Linked DNA regions of Homo sapiens: region 2 is linked to region 1. Evidence: promoter capture Hi-C in human tissues and cell types (Jung and others, 2019). All regions are on one chromosome and are shown on one strand. The core of a region is centred on a gene start or on the middle of the fragment in contact, and the rest is flanking DNA. Distances in the headings are between cores, read along the strand shown.

Evidence for each region. Contacts are between HindIII fragments. The study calls those that stand out against the background at their distance.
Region 2: a contact is called between a fragment that was not itself captured here and the fragment with the promoter of OR5P3 in region 1, in 1 of the 25 tissues and cell types used here (aorta).

What each region holds. Positions count from the first base shown.
Region 1 is chr11:7,826,012-7,832,353 of GRCh38, forward strand. It overlaps OR5P3 (olfactory receptor family 5 subfamily P member 3), which reads right to left and starts at 4,829. Exons shown (of 2, transcript NM_153445.2): 1 at 4,813-4,829. The HindIII fragment of the contact is 13,140 bases long and covers 1-6,342 here.
Region 2 is chr11:7,975,297-7,980,931 of GRCh38, forward strand. It overlaps the pseudogene COX6CP5. Among named protein-coding and RNA genes, the nearest start is that of EIF3F, 9.2 kb to the right of the region's middle. The HindIII fragment of the contact is 5,268 bases long and covers 1,034-5,635 here.

The DNA.
Region 1 (6,342 bases), core at 3,579-6,078:
AATATTATAATGGGATTAAATGCTATAATTGCACACTTATTTTTCCAATATCTATTTAACCAAAAAGTATAACAATTTAGGCACTCATGTAAATTTGGGAAGAAAATGCTTTCACACACAGTATCTTATGTAAGACTTTAAAACATAAATGTTCACTGATGTAAGGTCAGGAATACTCAGAAAAATCTTTTTTTTTTTTTAACTTAACACACTCAACTCGTATTGGATGGTTAATTTAGGTGCTCTCTGAGCACATTTCAGAGATGACCACTAGAATATATAAAGAATCCAGTAACTCAATCTTCTAAGGCCAAAGACGTGATTGAAGGGAGACATAAATGTCAGAATAGACCAAGACTCATGGAAAAGAACAGCTGTTCAAAAGGATGTTTGAGGTATCATCTATTGTATCAAAGATGTGTAGTCATTAAGAATTCCGAATTCCAAACAGAGGTCAAACAGATTAGCTGCATGCTAATCCACAGGACCAAGAAGAGGTCAGTAACTCAACACTGAGCTGTGGTCCCCACCCAGAGATTTCACAATTGAGGAAAAGTACACCAAATATCCAGGAAGTCTGGACCGAGGCAGAAGGTGAAGTAATGCACTCACACTATAAACAAGTAAACAGAGGAAGACTGAGGTTTGAAAGAGGAGATGAGATATCTCCTAATTATCTCAGGATCAAGCTATCTGATTCATGATAGTGAGCCAATCTAGAGAAGACATGATCAGGTTACTCCTGGAAGGCTCCAAAGATACAACTTATACCCAAGACTCTGCATAAGCTGGGGCTAGGTTGCTAACAGAAGATTCCAGCCTTCTACAGAACACAAATATCCAGCCCTATCTGAATAGTTGCTGTCTGAAAAAAATTGCATCTGTAGGTCACCTTCTGGAAGGCCCTCCTCCATACCAACTCGCTTGAGAAAAATCAAGAAAATGCAAGAAAAGCAGGAGAGCTTTCTCACAGCTTCAAAAGGTCCTAGAAATAATCCACTCGATTCTCTCACTTTATAAAATTATAAACGGAGATCTAAAAAAGATAGATAATACACACCATTGTCCAACATAACTTTAGATCAAATGGCTTTCTGGAAACTGAGCTAAAATGAAGAACCATATTCTTGGACTTCTAATTCATTTACTATCTTTATTTCACATATTATACATCTTTTCTATGATTTCTAAAGAAGACTATAGACTATCAGAAAGTATATTTGGTTCATTACATATTTAAAAAGGTTTTAAAATTATGCTAACATATAAATAATACATTTACTCTTGAAAGGGGAATTTTGCAGTGCAGTAATTCACATAAAGATGCGGCTGAGAGATAACGACAATTCTTTGAGGCAGGTGATAGTCTCCTTCAGTGCCCAGCACCTAGGGAATTGATATGCTTTTGTTTTCAGCTGAACAGTTGTGAGTGCCTGATAGATGAGGGGTCAAATTTCACTAAGATTTTCTTTTTTCTGAGCAACGAAAGGGACAGATATGGAATGTTAGGGTATATGCAAGGTAGAGAGTAAAATAACCACTACATTTAAGCTAGGCAAAGATGAAGTGAGTACCTGAGATGGGTAAAATCAACAAAATGGTTCTAGCCTTTCTGCAAGGATTGAAAATTTGCTATAATTATTCTACCAGTGAAAACAAGCAGGAAAAACAAGAAATGATGGTAGTTACAGTTTGGGGTGCTTAAAAATGAGATTACGGAAAAGCTACAGTTATTGGCAAATGCTAATGTCTAAACTCTAACAACGGGAGAGACAGGTTTTAGGGAGGAAAACAAATTTTTTTTGAAGATATGTCAAGAAACTAAGAAGCCAAAATGTTGAAAGCAACCTCTATGTGGAGGTATTAAAGCCACCAGGAATAGTGACAGAAATAATGTAAGAAAATGAGTGAGCCAGAGCCAAAAATCTTCCAAAGATGCGGAGACATGATGCTAGCCAGTTGATGACTGCAAATGCATAAGGAGAGAAAGGTAAGATTGGTTAGTATAGTCTGATGACATAAAACTCAACTATGGGTATTTGTAGGTAGGAAGGAGAGAGAATGTCCACAAGCAGCAACAAGGGAAATGGAAGATCCTATCCATCACCAGGTTCGGGGTAAAAGTGGTAAGAGAAAAAAAAGTTCATCATTTGAGAAGGCTGCAGAGAAAACATTGTCCTCAGGGACAGCCAAGTGTCTGTTGAAAAGGACAGTAAGGGAAATGGAATGTTCAAAACCAATACTGAGGACATAAGAAATTTTGTTGATAACTGTGACTGCAGAAGGGCACAGGAAAAAGGCTTCAAGAGTTAAAAAGAGATGGATATGGGACCTCTTGATTCAAGAGAAGGCTTGGATACTTGAAAATAACCTTTCTTAGCTCCAGCTGAATAGAGATGGCATTCTGAGAGAGAGAGTACAGAAGATAATACACACAATTGTCTAACATACATTAGTTGCTACAATTTAATTGCTGAATAGCAGAAGGGAGGGTGAAAGCTAATCCCAAAGTTGTGAAGATTGTGAGGAAGGGGTAATAGGTAAACAACTCAGCTGACCTGGAGTGACTTAACAGTTTTGAGGCAATCCCAGTATCTCACCCAAGGAAAAGTCATCCCTATTGAAGAATTTAAAACCAATGAGAAACACTAGTAGGTAAAATCAAAGGGTCAAAAATCCTGGAGTTAAAAAAACAAAAAAACTGGATTCTGGTGATAGTCATTTCTGAGATTACTGCAGTGGTGACTTCACGTAGATCCAAAACTGCCATTGCTAGTCATGGTTACTTTTATGGAGTATGCATCTGGAATATTACATATGGTCTGTCAAGACTTTCATCTCTACCTATGCTGTTATTTCATATAGGGTTTCAAAAAATTGGCTAGAAATAGAGAACATCTTACTAGGACAGGGAAGAATGAAGATGAACAGATATTATACAAAATGTTTAAACTGAACGTGGAGATATAAGAAAGAAAATTTCCAAAATGAGAAGTTGATTTTTATGAAGGAGAGAAAAATTACCATAAAAATAAAATGTATGCTTCATCATAAATATGAAAAAATATTTGAAAATATATATTTGTGTCTGTATTTGTAGGGTCTCATGACTTTATGAAAAAGCAACCTTTTTGGGTAATAGAAGTTGGGATTACAGCATAGAAAGACCAATATGCACCAAAGGGCATCAGCAAGATGGGGAAGAATGTTGCAGTGGCTGCTACAAAAATAGGGTTGCTGATACAGAAATTCCATGTTGATTGGTTGGGAATATGAGTAAAGAGAAACAGAAGATACAGAGTTTTAAAGTGAATGAAGGAACATAAGCAATTTATCTTGGGCAAGAAATGGCTCCTGAAGGAAATTAACTTTTATCTTATTTTTTTTTTTACTACTCCAGTGCTTTTTAGAAGTCTGAGGATACACAAAATAACTGCTCAATACATGGGAGAATCATCAAGCAGTCACAATTGTGCCCAGTTGGAATGGGCTGCAAATTGGTGACAGCACTATGAAAGAGATTCAGGAATTACAGGTCTACCTGAGCTAATGTGATGCTGTGACATTTTAAAATGATATTCTAGGATTCAGCATAGTAAATTAATCCACTATAGTCTATACTCTACACATCCATATGAAGATAATGCGTGAACTTTCTCAATAGATTGCTTTCACTCTGGAGTCTGCAAACACTTTGCTCTTTGCTTCTATGTATCTTAAGTATCCAATTGATGCCTCTATTAGAATTAAGAAAAAAGAGAAGCAAAAGTGTTTTTTTAAAAAAGTAGAGAGGAATGAATGAAAGGCAGAGGAATATGAAAGGCAGACCATACAGAGGGAGCCAAAAGAGGTGCTATAGCTGATAAGATAAAAGAGGGAATTTTTATTTCACATGTCAACAATTTAATTCCATTTTTATCAATGATATCTTCTTCTATGGAAGAAAATTAAGATAATTCAATGTTTTCCTACATCATTTAATATAAGGTTTATTTACTCTTGGAAACTTCCATTCTTTATTGCTCCTCAACAATAGCAACCACAAAAATTCCCATAATTCTCTCTTTAAAGATCAACCAAAATTAAGGAATAATGTATTTTTCTTTAAAGAATTTGCTCTCAAGCAGACTGAACGCTCTTGCACACATGCACTGCTGTCTCTTTCTCTCTCTCACACACACACCACATGCATACACACACACACACTGGCATCAAAGTCATGTGCTCATCCAGCCACATTATTTTCACACTTTTATTCTGAACTGAGATGCTTGAATAATTTCACGTCTGAATTAACTGATCAATATCATGCTATGTTAAGAACACCATGCAATTACATGTTTGAACTCTGAAGTCCTATCTTCCTTATCTTTGTACAGGGCTTTATTAAGTGGCATGGACCCAAGAATGAATGAATGCTTAAAATTTTAGAAAAGATAGATGTGTATAATAGAAATTCAGAGTCAGTTATACATGCTATTATGGCATGGAAGCAATGTGTTGGACAGAAATGCCATGAGCTTTGGAGACATACGGCCCTGGGATTAGATTCAGCTTTGTCACCAGCAATCTATGGAATCTTGGAAATTTTACATAAACTGTTCAACTCTTCATTACGTTATTTGTTTAAAAAAATACTTCACATGATTCTTGTGTTGAATAAGATGATGTACATGATAATACCAAGTATGGATCATAGAAATAAGTGAATGTTCAACAAATGATTATTTCCTTTAAAAAACTATACCTTAACTTCTAATACAAAAATGAGAAACAAACATTCCTGTATCAATAGAAAAGGGAAATTATTACCTGCAGATGAATGTACATCAGCAATAATAACAAATTGCAAAGAACTGTCACTGTATAGGAAGGTGATATTTATGAGATTTGGGGTCCTTTGGGATATAGCCTCTTGAGTACACTACTTGTTTATAAAAATTTCACTGAAAATTCATCAAGACAATGGAAATTACAGGTACATATGCTCATAAAAATATGTGTTGCTGCTGGGCATGGTGGCTCACACTTGTAATCCCAGCACTTTGGAAGGCCAAGGTGGGAGAATTGTTTGAGGCCAAGAGTTCAGACAAGTTTGGGCAACATAACAAGACCCCATCTCTACAAAAAAAAAATATAAATAAATAAAAGTAAAATTAGCCAGGTGTCATGGCTCATGCCTGTAGTCTCAACTACTCAGGAGGCAGAAATGGGAAGATTGATTGAAGTCAGGAGTTTGAGGCTGCAGTGAGCTAGAATTGCACCACTGTACTCCAGCCTGGGCAACTAAGCAAGACCTCAACTGAAAAAAAAAAGTCTAAAAACATCTGTAAATTTATTTATTTTTAGTATGCATTAGAATTTTTAAATAAAACTTTTTGATGAACTGCTAAATCCCCTGTAACTATATTGAGATTTATAGGAATAAGCAAGAGTACAGTGTACCAGAGTAATTTCTCTTCAAAATAAAAATTCTTCTGGGAAAAAATAAATGTTTATGTTTTCTGTATGTTTCTAGATGATACTACCTTTATTTTTTAATTAAACTTTTTACTTTGAGATTATTGTAGATTTACATGCAGTTTTAAGAAATGAAATTAATACAGAGAGATCTTATATGCCCTCTACCCAATTTCTTCCAATGAACGCATTTTGAAAAACTGTAGTGTAATATCACAACGAGGATACTGGCAGTGATACAGTCAAGATACAGAACATTTCCATGAGCACAATAACCCCTCACATTACTCTTTCATAGCCACAACAACTTCTGTCCCATCCCCATCCCTTCCTTAACTTCAGGAATCCTCTAATATGTTCTCTGTTTCTACATTTTTATAATTTCAAGTATTTTATTATTATGTAACATCCCTTTCTGCCTCTAGTAATTTTCTTTGCTCTGAAGTCTACGTTATTCAATATTAATATAGCTACTGCTTTTCTTTTGATTAATATTTACATGCTATGTCTTTTTCATTATTTTACTTTCTTTTTTGGATTTTGTTTTGGTTTTTTTGAGATGGAGTCTTGCTCTGTCACCCAGGCTGGAGTGCAGTGGCACAATCTCGGCTCACTGCAAACTCCACCTCTCGAGTTCAAGAGATTCTTTTGCCTCAGCCTCCCGAGTAGCTGGGATTACAGGCGCCTGCCACCACGCCCAGCTAATTTTTGTATTTTTAGTAGAGATGGGGTATCACCACATTGGCCAGGCTGGTCTCAAACTCCTGGCCTCGTGATCCAACCACCACAGCCTCCCAAAGTGCTGGGATTACAAGTGTGAGCCATCACACCTGACCCATTATTTTACTTTCAATTTGCCTCTATTATTATATTTGAAGTGAC
Region 2 (5,635 bases), core at 2,418-4,917, 150 kb after region 1:
TCCCAGCACTTTGGGAGGCCAAGGCAGGTGGATCACTTAAGCTCAGGAGTTCAAGACCAACCTGGGCAACATGGTGAAGGCTCATCTCTACAAAAATTAGCCAGGCGTGATGACACATGCCTGTAGTCTCAGCTACTCAGGAGGCTGAGGTGAGATGATCACTTGAGCCTGGGAGGTCCAGGCTACAGTGAGCCGAGATCATGCCACTGCGCTCCAGCCTCGGCAAGAGTGAAACCCTGTCTCAAAAAAAAAAAAAAAAGAAAAGAAAAGAAAGAAAGAAAGAAGAGACACAGATTCAGACCACTAAGAATTATAGATGTTACATTTATCAGCTTCGTATGAAAATGTTTTTAAAATTTAAGGATGTAATTACAAAAATAAGCTTATAAGAAATAAGAAAAAATAGATTTGTTTTAAAAATCCTTTTATATGAAAAAGAAAGAAAATAAAATAGAACTTCTACAGATGAAGAATATAATTATTGAAATCTAAAATTCAATATACAGAACAGATAGCAGCTGAAGTCAGAATTAGAGAGCTGAAGCTATGGCCAAAGAATTTATCCAGACAGCAGCATAAACGGATAGCAGATTGAAAATATGAAAGCTTAAGAGACATGGAGAATAAGGTCAGGAGAGGCAATATTAAGAGCAAATGGGCCGGGCGCAATGGCTGATGCCTGTAATCCTAGCACTCTGGGAGGTCAAGGCAGGTGGATCACTCGAGGTCAGGAGTTCGAGAGCAGCTTGGCCAACATGGCTAAACCCTGTCTCTACTAAAAGTACAAAAATTAGCCAGGCATGGTGGTGCATGTCTGTAATCCCAGCTATTCAGGAGACTGAGGTGGGAGACTTGCTTGAACCCAGGGAGCAGAGGTTGCAGTGAGCTGAGATCACACCACTGCACTCCAGCCTGGCAACAGAAACTCTGTCTCAAAAAAAAAAAAAAAAAAGCAAATGGCTGTAAATTTCCCGAACCAAAAAAAAAAAACAAAACCACGAATCTATAGATCCAAGAAGAACAATTTATCCCAAGCAGAATACATAAAAAGAAAGCCACCTTAAAATACATCACAATGGAACAGCAGACTCTAAAGACAAACAGATCTTGAAGCATCCAGAAAGAAAGGACCACAAAGAAACAACAAAGCAAAAAAGAAGCCAGAGATGGCAGAATGTTTTGAAAGTACTAAGATATTATAACTGCTAATTTAGAATTGTACATCCAGGAAAACTGTTTTTCAAAAATGAAATCAAGCCAGGCACAGTGGCATGTGCATGTAATTCCAGCTACTCAGGAGGCTGGGGCGGGAGGTTCCCTTGAGCCCAGGCAATACAGCGAAAACTTGTCCCTTAAAAAAAAAAAAAAAATGAATGAATGAATGAAAGCAAACCACTTTCACAGTTTTTAAAAATGTGGACTACCAAGGGAACTGCTCTAAAAAAAAAAGAGAGAAAAAGCTTTACTTCAAGTAGGTGAAAAGATTTCAGAAGAAAGTCTTAGAACAGGCTGTGCATGGTGGCTCACGCCTGTAATCCCAGCACTTTGGGAGGCTGAGGTGGGCGGATCATGAGGTCAGGAGATCAAGACCATCCTGGTCAACATGGTGAAACCCTGTCTCTACTAAAATAAAAAATAAAAAAAATTAGCTGGGCATGGTGTGTACCTGTAGTCCCAGCTACTCAGGAGGCTGAGGCATGAGAATGGCTTGAACCCAGGAGGCTGAGGTTGCAGTGAGCCAAGATCGCCCCACTGCACTCCAGCCTAGTGACAGAGTGAGACTCCATCTCAAAAAAAAAAAAAAAAAAAAGGTCTTAGAATAAAGTCTTGTCCTAGAAAGACAAGAAGAAATAGTGTACAGAGAAAGTGGTAAACAGGTAAGCAAATTGAAACATACTGGGTGTTAGCCTTATAAATATAATACTAATAGTGTTTACATCATGTGGCTAGTTCCTCCACCCACGGGAAATAATGAACAACAGTGTATAAATCAGAACGGGAAATACCAAAGTGAAAGCATTTTAAAGTCCTTTTAACATCATCGGTGCCGTTCTTTAAACAGAGTTAATGCATTAAAAATGCATAATAACTTCTGCACCTGCATGCAGCTGGTGCAATAGCAATGCCTATTTCTCTGTCCATCTGGAAGGAACTTGCAGAGGATGATGCAATACCATGACTATCATAGCTTCCAGTGCCTTGATGAAACCTCAAGGTTTTTGGCCTTTTGGCCAAGCATCTGCCATTTCATACTGTTGCAGCATTTGTTGTGTCCTAGGAGTTGCAACTATCTATAAGTTTGTTGTGGCTAAACCATGAAATAAGGCATATATAGATTTCTGCAGAAATTATAATTCTACAAATGATTTTGAAGAGATGAAAAAGGTTGGTATCTTTTGGAATGCAAAGTGATATTGGAATGTAAAGAATTTCTGGGGATTGTGTTCCATGGAAGTTTGTCACTGGCCTACGTTCCTGAACTGTGAAACATGAATATGTGGGCAAAGGAATAGTTTGTTTTGATAGATTAACAAATATGAAAAAAATGCATGATAAAATCAAGAGCTATAATTAAAACACTAAAATTGGAATATGTGCTTCCTAAGTAGTAGAGAAACAGGAAAAATAAGAACATGCAATCAATCAATAACCCCATTTAAAGGCCAAATATAAGGAATGGAGACAACACAGGGGCTGGGCACAGTGGCTCACATCTGTAATCCCAGCATTTTGGGAGGCCAAGTTGGGTGGATCACTTGAGGTCAGGAGTTTGAGACCAGCCTGGACAACATGGTGAAACCACATCTCCACTAAAAATACAAAAATTAAAAATTAAAAAGAACACAGAAAAGTGAACCAAATAAAAATCAAAAATTAAATGTAAGAAATTAGTCCAAATACTCAACATAGAAAATGCTAATGGACTAGACTTGCCAATGCAAAGAGAGAAACAGATCAAATTGTTTAAATATTTAGCTATATGTGTTTATAAGAGTTACACCTCAAGCATAAAGATATGGAATGGTTGAAAGTAAAAAAAAATATGAGGAAAATATATGTGAGAAAATGCTAATCAAGGGAAATCTAGTGTAGCTATATATATTTTTATTTATTTACTTTTAAATAAATAAACTATGAGGTAGGTACTAGAAGGTCAAATATGAAAACAACGTGATCCATGCCTGAAAAGATGTAGAGTTTAGTAAGGATAACAAACAAAGAAATGGATCATTTATTCCACTTTAGAACCAGACAAAAGAGGAAATTCACATTTTAGGAAGAATGTATAGTCCTGAAATATAACCAGTCTATTTTTATTTATTTTTCAAGACAGGGTAACCCTGTTGCCCAGGCTGGAGTGCAGTGGTGCAATCATAGCTCACTGCAGCCTCAAACACCTAGGCTCAAGCCCTCCTTCCACCTCAGCCTGTGAGTAGCTGGGTCTACAGGTACACACCACTACACGTGACTATGATGTAGCTATACTAATTTCAGCAAAATAGATTTTAAGACAAAAGCATCGGCCGGGCACAATGGCTCATGCCTGTAATCCCAGCATTTTGGGAGGCCAAGGCGGGCGGATCACGAGGTCAGGAGATCGAGACTATCCTGGCTAACACGGTGAAACCCCATCTCTACTAAAAATACAAAAAATTAGCTGGGCGTGGTGGCACGTGCCCGTAATCCTAGCTACTCGGGAGGCTGAGGCAGGAGAATTGCTTGAACCCGAGAGGCAGACGTTGCAGTGAGCCGAGATCGTACCGCTGCACTCCAGCCTGGGTGACGGAGTGAGACTCCCTCAAAAAAAAAAAAGACAAAAGCATCATTAGAGTTGAAGACAGTCAACACACAATGGTAAAGGTCCAATTCACTAGAAAATTTTAACAGTTCTAAGCATGTAATAACCTAATTAGATTCAAAATAACTCAGTATGTGGTAAAACAAAAACTGACAAAGTTACAGAGAGAAACTAACAACTCCATCATTACATTGAGAAGATACTAAACTTCCTCTCTCAATTGTTGCTAGGTCAAACAAATAAAAAAAGATCAATTATATATAGGTTAAAGATCAGAATTAGCAAGCTTTACATAACAGACTTATAGAGTTCTGTGTCCTAAATTTAAATGATAAACATTCTTCTAAGGTACACCTGGACCACTTGATAACATACTTGGCTATAAAGTAAGACAATTAATTTTTTAAAATAGGTATTGTATAGATATATTCTCTGGAAAAAAACAAAATTAAATTGGAAGTTATTAATAAAAAGATAAAGAAAGATGAATTATAGCTTTTGTTTATGAATAGGAAAACTGAATATCACAAAAATATCAGTTCAGCTCAGTACGTCTTTAGAATCAATGCAACCTAATCCATCAGGTTTCACAAACTTATTCTAAAATGTACAGGAAAGAGCAAAGGGCCAAGAATAACCAAGACTTTTTTTTTTTTTTTTTTTTTGAGACGGAGTCTTGCTCTGTCGCCCAGCCTGGAGTGCAGTGGCGCGATCTCGGCTCACTGCAAGCTCTGCCTCCCAGGTTCACGCCATTCCCCTGCCTCAGTCTCCCAAGTAGCTGGGACTACAGGCGCCCGCCACCACGCCCGGCTAATTTTTTGTATTTTTAGTGGAGACCGGGTTTCACCGTGTTAGCCAGGATGGTCTGATTTCCTGACCTCGTGATCCACCCTCCTCAGCCTCCCAGAGTGCTGGGATTACAGGCATGAGCCACCGCCTGGCCTAACCAAGACACTTTTGAAGAAAAAGATGGTAGACAAGAGGGAGAGGCTGCCCTGGATATATTCTAAAACTAAGGTAATTAAGACAACATAATATTGCACCTGCTCTACCACGTTTCAAAACTAATTCTAAAACTAGAGATGTGGGCGGATCACGAGGTCAGGAGATGGAGACCCTCCTGGCTAACACAGTGAAACCCCATCTCTACTAAAAATACAAAAAAAAAAAAAAACTTAGCCAGGCGTGGTGGTGGGCGCCTGTAGTCCCAGGTACTCGGGAGGCTGAGGCAGGAGAATGGCGCGAATCTGAGAGGCGGAGCTTGCAGTGAGCTGAGATCGAGCCACTGCACTCCAGCCTGGGTGACAGAGCAAGACTCTGTCTCAAAAAAAAAAAAAAAATTAAAATTAAACTAGAGATGTAGCCATTAATATGGCACAGCAATGGTTCAGAGTGGACAAAATAGAAACAAGAGCCAGAAACACTACCAGACACTATGAAACTGTGATACACTGTCATGCATTGCCTAATGATGGTGATACATTCTGAGATATTCATTATTAGGTAATTTTGTTGTTGTGTGAACATCATAGAGTACTTTCGCAGACCTAGATGGTATAGCCTACCACACACCTAGACTTTATGGCATAGCCTATTGCTCCCACGCTACAAACCTGTACAGCATGTTACAGGAAAGAGCAAAGGGCCAAGAATAACCAAGACTTTTTTTTTTTTTGAGACAGAGTCTTGCTCTGTCGTCCAGGCTGGAGTGCAGTGGCTCGATCTCGGCTCACTGCAAGCTCCGCCTCCTGGGTTCACGCCATTCTCCTGCCTCGGCCTCCCGAGTAGCTGGGACTAGAGGTGCCCACCACCACGCCCGGCTAATTTTTTTGTATT